Linked DNA regions of Homo sapiens: region 1 is linked to region 2. The links are contacts of gene promoters, found by promoter capture Hi-C in blood cells and fetal thymus (Javierre and others, 2016). All regions are on one chromosome and are shown on one strand. The core of a region is centred on a gene start or on the middle of the fragment in contact, and the rest is flanking DNA. Distances in the headings are between cores, read along the strand shown. Region 1 overlaps LOC400499 (putative uncharacterized protein LOC400499). Region 2 holds the start of LITAF (lipopolysaccharide induced TNF factor).

Region 1 (3,847 bases), core at 59-2,558, 180 kb before region 2:
AGCCCCAGCTCCTCTCTATGAGCTGAGACGCTGCATGACCTGGGTCCCCCAGCCCTCCTGCCTCGCCTCATCCCTTCTCCCCATTCCAGCCATGCTAGCCCCGCAGCTGCTGCTCCACATGCAAACCTCATTTCCAAGTGGGGCCTTCCGCCTGAAGTGCCTCTGCTCAGATCTGCCAGCTCCTTCTCATCCTTCAGAACTCAGTTCAGAAGTCACCTCCTCCAAGAGGCCTTCCCAGACCACCCCACCTAAAGGAGGCCCACACCCCACAAAGACCCTGCTTGCTCTCACAGCCTTTCCCACTCGTGGAAATGGTCATGCTTGACGTTATTTTGCTTATGTGCATCTTGTTGCTCAATGCCTGTCTCCCTGAGGGGTGACACCTGGGCCATCTTGCTTCCTGATGGACCCCTGGTGCCTAGATTACACCTGGGATATGCAGGTGCTCAGTCATGGCTTTTTTGAGACCGAGTCTCACTCTCGCTCAGGCTGGAATGCACTGGCTCAATCTCGGCTCTCTGCAACCTCTGCCTCCCAGGTTCAAGCGATTCTCCTGCCTCAGCCTCCCAAGTAGCTGAGATTGTAGGTGCCTGCCACCATGCCTGGCTAATTTTTGTATTTTTAGTAGAGATGGGGTTTCACCATGTTGGCCAGGCTGGTCTCAAACTCCTGACCTCGAGTGATCTACCCACCTCGGCCTCCCAAAGGGCTTGGATTACAGGCATGAGCCACCGCGCCTGGCCAGGGATGATTTCTTGAGTGACTGGGCCACCCCTGCCTGCAGCCCCTCACACACTCACCCTGCAGGCTGAGGTTCCTGGTGGGCTTGGGGAAAGGCCCAGAAAGGCTCCCGGTGAGGGCCACCTCCTGGCCATCCCACAGCACCACCTGGCGCAGGACACGGGTCCCATGAGCTCGCTCGTATGCGGTCTGCAGGAACAGCTCCCTGGGAAGAGCGCTGAGCTGGAAGAGAATGACGGCGTCATGGGGGAACCCGACCCATGCTTCTGCCTGGGATGGGAAAGAAGAGAAGCTTGCAGAGGAGGAAAAAGGGAATATTTGTGGATCATTTACAGTTTCCTGAATGGTGACATATGTCAGGGGATCAAAAACCCAAATGCTTCCTAAGGATGAGCAGATAATTTAAAGGAGAGGAGTAGGTGAGGGGAGTATGGCCAACAGGAGACAGCACAGAACAGCCACTTCTCAATTCCATGGCCAAGCTGTGTGGCTCTGGGCATTTTTCAACCTCTCTGAGCCTCAGTTTCCTAGAAAATGGAGGCCAGAAAGTGTCAACCTTTGCAAGATGATACAAGTGGTGCACTCAGCCCAGGGCTACACGGTGGAGAGGAGCTTGTAGGAGGCACGCAGTTGGTATTGCGGTTTCTCAATCATGTAGCGAGCAGGTATCATGCTCCCAAGCCAGTGCTGAGTGCCTGGGTACAAAGCTAGCCAAGACCTGGTCCTGGCCCTTAAGGGGCTCCCAGGGAGATAGTCGAGATAGTCACAGGACAGAAAATGATGGGATAAGGTGACAAGGATGGTCACAAGAGACATTCAAGGGAGAAAGGAACGCAGAGAAGCAAGCTTGGGGAGGAGGCAGGGAAGAGCATTCTAGGCAGATGGAAGAGCCTGTGCAAAGGTTCGGAGAGGGACGCCGTCCCTGCTGGTGGGTGCCACAGTCCGAGGGTGACTTGAGGGCACTGCAGGGGGACTGCTGGGGTGGGGAAGGAAGTTTGCTCTTAAACGTCTCTAAAACCTATCACTACTGCCCCCAGCTTGGTCCACGCATTATTATTGCCCTGCCCCTGCCCATTATGGGGCTTCCTCACTGCTCACTTCTGCCACCTGTAGGTCCCTCCCCACACAGCAGCCAGAGGGATCTGAAATCATCATTTATTTGATCATGGCTTCAAAGGCTTCTAGTAGCAGATAGAACACAATGCAAACGCCTCCCTGTGGCCTGACTGACCCTGTGTGATCAGACCACCTCCTACCATTCCCCACCCACCCAGCTCCAGCCCAGTGGCTCCTTGGCCATTCCTAAAACATGCAAACCCATCCCTGCCCCAGGCCCTTTGCATGTCTTGTTCCCTCTGCCTGGAATACTCTTTTTAAAAAATGTATTTTAGATTGAGGGGGTCAGTGTGCATGTTTGTTACATAGGTATATTGTGTAATGGTGGGGACTGGGCTTCCAGCGTCCCTGTCACCCAAATATCGAACATCATACCAGGCAGGTAATTTTCCAACCCTTGGCTCCCTCTCACCCTCCTCCCTTTTGGAGCCCTCAGTGTTTACTGTTTCCATCTTTATGTCCATGTGTATTCAATGTTTAGCTCCTGCTTACAAGTGAGAACATGTGATACTGGGTTTTCTGTTTCTGAGCTAGTTCACTTAGGATAATTGCATCCCTGCTGCTGCAAAGGACAGAATTTCATTCTTTTTTCCGGCTGTGTAATATTCCATGGTGTATATATACCACAGTCTCTTTACCTGCCTCGAATGCCCCTCCCCCAGAGATTTCTTTTTTCTTTTCTTCCTTTTGAGATGGAGTTTCACTCTTGTCACCCAGGCCGCAGTGCAACGGCGCAATCTCGGCTCACTGCAACCTCCACATCCTGGGTTCAAGCAATTCTCCTGCCTCAGCCTCCAAAGTAGCTGGGATTATAGGCATGTGCCACCACGCCTGGCTAATTCCATATTTTTAGTAGAGACGGGGTTTCCCCATGTTGGCCGTGCTGGTCTCGAACTCCTCACCTCAGGTCATCCACCCGCCTCGGCCTCCCAAAGTGCTGGGATTACAGGCGCGAGCCACCGTGCCCGGCCTTCCCCCGGATTTTCAAATGGCTGGTGCTTATCATCCACCGCTAGCTCATGTGTCGTCTCTTCAGTGGGGCCTTTCCTGGCCACCTAATCTAAATAAGCTCCTTGGTCACTCTCAGTCACTTCAGTACGTTTTCTCCGTATCATAGTACTATCTGGCATATTTCGTTTGTGTGATTTCGGGGAGTCAATCTCCCCCGCTAGAGTGGACACTTGATGAGAGGAAGGATTGATCAGATCTGTTTTAGGTCACGCCCCAGCTTCTGAAATAGTGCCTGGCACCTAGTAGATGCTCCATAAATCATGCAATAAATCCAGCTCAATAAATCCAGCACATTGTGTCCATTTCACAGCCTTGTCTGTCCTTCCGCCCAGGAACCGGGACACTAGGACAATTTTTCTTTTCTCAAAGGGCTGTCCCAGAGGCCCCCCACCCCAGCGTGCTCCGGCCCTGGGCTGACCTCCACACACCTGCAGAAAGGTCTGTTCCAGTTTGATGAAATTGTTGAGACCGGCCTTAGCAGCTACCTGCCGGGTGCTGATGTGAAAATGACGCTCCTCCACGCCCAAGGCGAACATGCTCTGAACCTCACCCTTGGAGTAGTGTAGCTGGGTCAGAAAAAAAAAAAACCACCACAAAACACGATAAAGCTCCTCATCAGGGCTCTGATGGAACATTCCAGGAGATGCTGGCTGTAGGCCGAGGGCTCTGCCTCCCAAAGTCCCAGGCCCAAGAGACCCACAACTCCCTGGGCTGGATGAAGTTTGATGATGCGAGGGTTTGGAGCCTCAGGTTAGGCCATCAAGCGTGGCCATGGCAACTATCTCCTTCATGCCCTCCCTGCTATAACATTGACTTGAAAATATCTACCAGCCTGGCACCAGCAGCCAAGAATTCTAGTTGTAGTACTGTTGCAGACAGCAGGGGGCAGTCTAGCAGAAAGAATTATGCCTGGGTGCGTGTCAGCATCAAACACAACAGAACTCCAAGTGTGGATCTACCACTGAGAGGTGAGTGATCT
Region 2 (4,044 bases), core at 429-2,928:
AAAAAAAAGAAAGAAATTGATCCTACGTCTTAGATCAATCACCCAGTCACTTAATCTGTGAAAACATTACAAGATACTTTCTCAAATGTGAATAAATGCATCAATTATTCATGCCTTAAAGTAACAGGAAAGAGGGAGATGGGCCTCCCTCATGGTAGATTACAATTAAATGTTTCTTAGAGAGTTTGGTGCACATTTAGTTCCCAGAGCAAGGGCTGGTGGAGAAGAAAGCCAAGTGCAATATGGGTGTTACTCTATGCCAGGTAAAGCAAGTCACACGCCATCTAGATCCTGCTCCAACTGATAAAACCAAAACACTGGTGGAATTCCAGATACCAGCCTGCACTTCTCTCTGTAGGCATCTGGGTTAGTCCTAAATAGGAAGTCCTAAAAAGAGTCACTCTGAGAAGGCAGGGGGTGAGAGGGCAGATGAAGCAGCCAAGCACACATTAAGGCAAATCATGGCTTTCCTAAAGAGGACCCCAAGCTGGGCTTCAGACAGTCTTTGAACCAGCACCAGTGCACCAGGCCAAGGGGAGGGAGGCATCCTCTTTGGGAAGACTGGTAGGAGCTTGGAAGACCCCGTGGCTTCCACAAACTGTAGATTTCCCAGTGACCACTGCTCAGTCCAACAGCCAGTGACATCAGCTCCACTGTCGGGAAGTAGAAAACCAGTGAAGGTCCAACTAGCCTGGTCCCTGAAGCATGACTGGCCCTTCCAGAACATACACCTTTCCCCTATCACCTCCTCTCCCTGACCCCGAAGAGCTTCGGGCACACCACCAACTGACCACCTATCCACAGTGACCTGCAAACCAGAGCGGGGAGGGTATTTGCCTAGCTTGGCAGGGAGGGGCGAGATCCACTTCTGCCACCAGTCACCAGCTGGTCCCACCAGCACCTACCCAGCACCGGCGGTGGACGGTGAGCGGCGTCTGGGCCCAGAGCTGGGTGCCATCAGCAGTAAGAGGACCCCTGCGCTCGCGGGGTGCCCGCCTTACCCCGCGGGGAGGGGTCAGGCCTAGGGGCCACGGCCCGCTTCGCTCTCTGATTTTCACCTCCCCAGGGTCTCCCAGGGGCCTCGGGTGTCCTTCCCGGATCTTGCGCGAAGTCGCGGGGGCAGGGAGAGAAACGCGGGTACCCGCGCCCCTAGAAGTCAAATGTTTGGCAAATAGCATTTGGGAATTCGTTGGGGTTTTTTTGTTTGTTTTGGTTTTGTTTCTGAACCCCCGGGGGATATTTCTGGAAATCTCAACCTGAGTCACTAGAGAGAATCGCGCCTTTTTCTAAAAAGCCCAGGGGCCGTCCTCTCCGGGGAGGGGGACGCGGCGGGCCGCGAAGGGCGCTCGTTCGGGTGGGGGCCGGACGACCCCGCCACGCGCGATCGGGCCACTCTGGGACGCAGGAGCTGAACCCAACCGGAGACGCGGCCGGGACCAGCGCTGGGAGGCCGGACCCCGCCCCGGCCGGGCCCCCACGCCCTCCGCCGCGCCTCGATGCCCGCGACCCGACCCGCGCCCCCTGGCATCCCAGGAGGCCCCAGCCAAGGGCTCAGTGCCCGGGGCCCCCAGCAGGTGCTGGCGCCACCGGCCCCCCGCTGTCTCCCGCTGGTCCCCGCGCCCCGGCGTCCCCGCGCCGCACTCACCGCCGCCCGCGCCGCCTGTCGAGCCGGGAGGTCTGAGCTGGCCTCTCGGGCGCCCCGAGAAAAGGGCCGGGCGGCGGGGACGGGGGCGGGGGCTGGACCCGCCGGGGCGGAGCGCGGCCGGCTTGGGCTTCCGGCTTCTCCCGCCCCCGCGGCCCGCACCTGGGCCCCAGGCGAGACCACCGCCGGTTCCCCGCCTCACTCTGATCGCCCCCAGGCTCCATCCCACACCCGGCTCGCTCGCCACCCCAGAGCTTCCCAGGCTTACCCCCGAGACGCCTGGCGCGGACCTGGTGTCTCCCCCACTCTCCTATCCTGCCCCTGCCTCTCGGTGCCAGCCCCACCCGTCCGCCCCCGACAGCCTGGCCCTCCCTCCTGATTTGCCGCTCGCGGCTCTCCCCACTTTCCCCCCTCCCCGCGCCGCTCCACCACTTCCAGGCGGCGGGACCACCAACCTCGACCCCGGACCCGCGCTGGGGCGCTCCCGGCCCTCTGGAGGGCGGCCCTTCTCTTCCTGTAACTCTACAGACGCGTCCGGACAGACCAAGACACTCTCTGTGCCTTCGGGCATGTTACCCATCCTCTCTGAGCTCGGCTTCCTGTCTGCAAAATGGGCACAATAGCGGTCCTGTCTCCTAAGACCGACTGGGAGTGAACTGGGAAGATGGTAAAGTTTTTAGCACAGGATAGGTATTAGGTAAGGCTTATCAGCTGCCTGTCCGCTTTGTGCCCCCAGGGTGGTCCGTGCCGCCAGGTAGGCCTTTCTCAGCCATCACTGAAAGCAAGCTCTGGAAATCAGTAGCCCCATTTCACATCCGCCCCTAAATGGGTGCCATCTGCCCGTCTGCTTGGAGCCCCATCGGCCGGCTGCAGTGATAACAGCAGCAGCCTGGATCCAGCAGGCTCTCTGGGAAATCATTAGAGGGAATTAAGAAGCATGCCTGGCTTTCAGAGTACACAGAGTCAGGAGATGGGCAGAACCATGATGTGGCCATCCACAAACAAACGCCATTTGGACAGGGAGCTTCCGAGCCCCATGCTGGCAAAGACCTGGATCTTAGAACCCTCCGGTGCCCAAATCCCATGCCTTTACCCGAGGTCCTAAAGATAGTGAGGCCCAGATAGGGAGTGTGGCTTGTCCCGGGTCCCTCAGCAAAGTGTCCCCAGCCCCAAGTTCTTGCCACCTTGCGCCATGTCCACTGACGGGCCACCCTCAGCCGTGGACGAGTTACCAAGTTGGAAGGGATTTCAAAGTTCTCCCAAGCATAGGAGGTTCCCATGTAGATGTTATTAGTGTGGGCAACATTTTACTGCTTTTAAAATATGAAGGGGGCGGGTGCAGTGGCTCTTGCCTATAGTCTCAGGACTTTGGGAGGCCATGGCCAGAGGATCTCTTGAGCCCAGGAGTTCAAGGCCAGGCTGGACAACATAGTGAGACTCCATCTCTATAAAAATTTTTTTAATTAAAAGAATAATAATAAAGCGGTGGAGTGGTGGCATGTGCCAGCTACTCAGGAGGCTGAGGTGGGAGGATTCCTTGACCTCCGGAGGTTGAGGCTGTAGTGAGCTATAATCGAGCCACTGCACTGTAGCAAGCAAGCAACAAAGAAAGAAAGAGGGAAAGAGGGAAAAGAGAAAGAAAAAAAAAAGAAAGAAAAAGAAGAAAGAAAGAGAAAGAAAGAAAGGGAAAAGAAAGAGAAGGAAAGAAGGAAGGGAGGGAGGGAGGGAGAAGAGAAGAACAGGAAATTGGATTACACCCAACCTCTGCCATTCCTCCATTCTCAGGATGCAACCAAGGCTTGCAAAGGTACCAATTATTATACTGACATTAAGACAGAATATCACAGACCATTGCTAGGGAGACATAACACCTAGGGAAAATCTCTCAGAGATAACGTTCAAGAAACATCCCTGTATGAATGCTTTTCTTCCTTCCTTCCTTTCTGTCTCTCCCTCCCTCCCAACCTTTTCTCCTTCCTTCCTTCCTTCCTTCCTCCCTTCCTCCTTTCCTCCCTTCCTCGCTTCCTCCCTTCCTTCCTGTAAAAAGCAGTAGTAAGCCTGAATTTTCTTCTGTCCTTTACTGAATACTACCACATCTTCATTTGTTTTTCTTTCCCCAACTGCTGAGCAGCAACAGGAGCCAGCTTTGTGTTTTTATCCATCCTAAACACTTACCACGGCTGTGAGCTTGCAATTATTTATGGGGAGAGCTATAAGACTGTAACTCTTTTCTTTGATCCCCAAAAAACCACAGAGATTGAATTTCCAACCCAAGGCTTCCAACCAGGGGGTAAAAGTAAACTGGGCCACGTGATCATCTCAATAGACGGAAAAAGCATTTGAAGAAATCCAATAATGCTTTCATGATTAAAAAAATAATAATAAACTAGAAATAGAAGGGA

The links. Contacts are between HindIII fragments. The CHiCAGO score rates a contact against its expected background, and 5 or more counts as called.
Region 1: a contact is called between a fragment that was not itself captured here and the fragment with the promoter of LITAF in region 2, in 4 of 17 cell types (monocytes, M0 macrophages, M2 macrophages and 1 more). The highest score is 7.9, in monocytes.

Annotation. Positions count from the first base shown.
Region 1 is chr16:11,403,904-11,407,750 of GRCh38, forward strand. It overlaps LOC400499 (putative uncharacterized protein LOC400499), which reads right to left. Exons shown (of 67, transcript NM_001370704.1): 47 at 3,297-3,434; 48 at 801-963. Among named protein-coding and RNA genes, the nearest start is that of RMI2, 60 kb to the left of the region's middle. The HindIII fragment of the contact is 554 bases long and covers 1,032-1,585 here.
Region 2 is chr16:11,585,241-11,589,284 of GRCh38, forward strand. It overlaps LITAF (lipopolysaccharide induced TNF factor), which reads right to left and starts at 1,679. Exons shown (of 4, transcript NM_001136472.2): 1 at 1,646-1,679. RefSeq lists an enhancer at 433-542 and silencers at 1,443-1,522, 1,553-2,032. The HindIII fragment of the contact is 18,010 bases long and covers 1-4,044 here.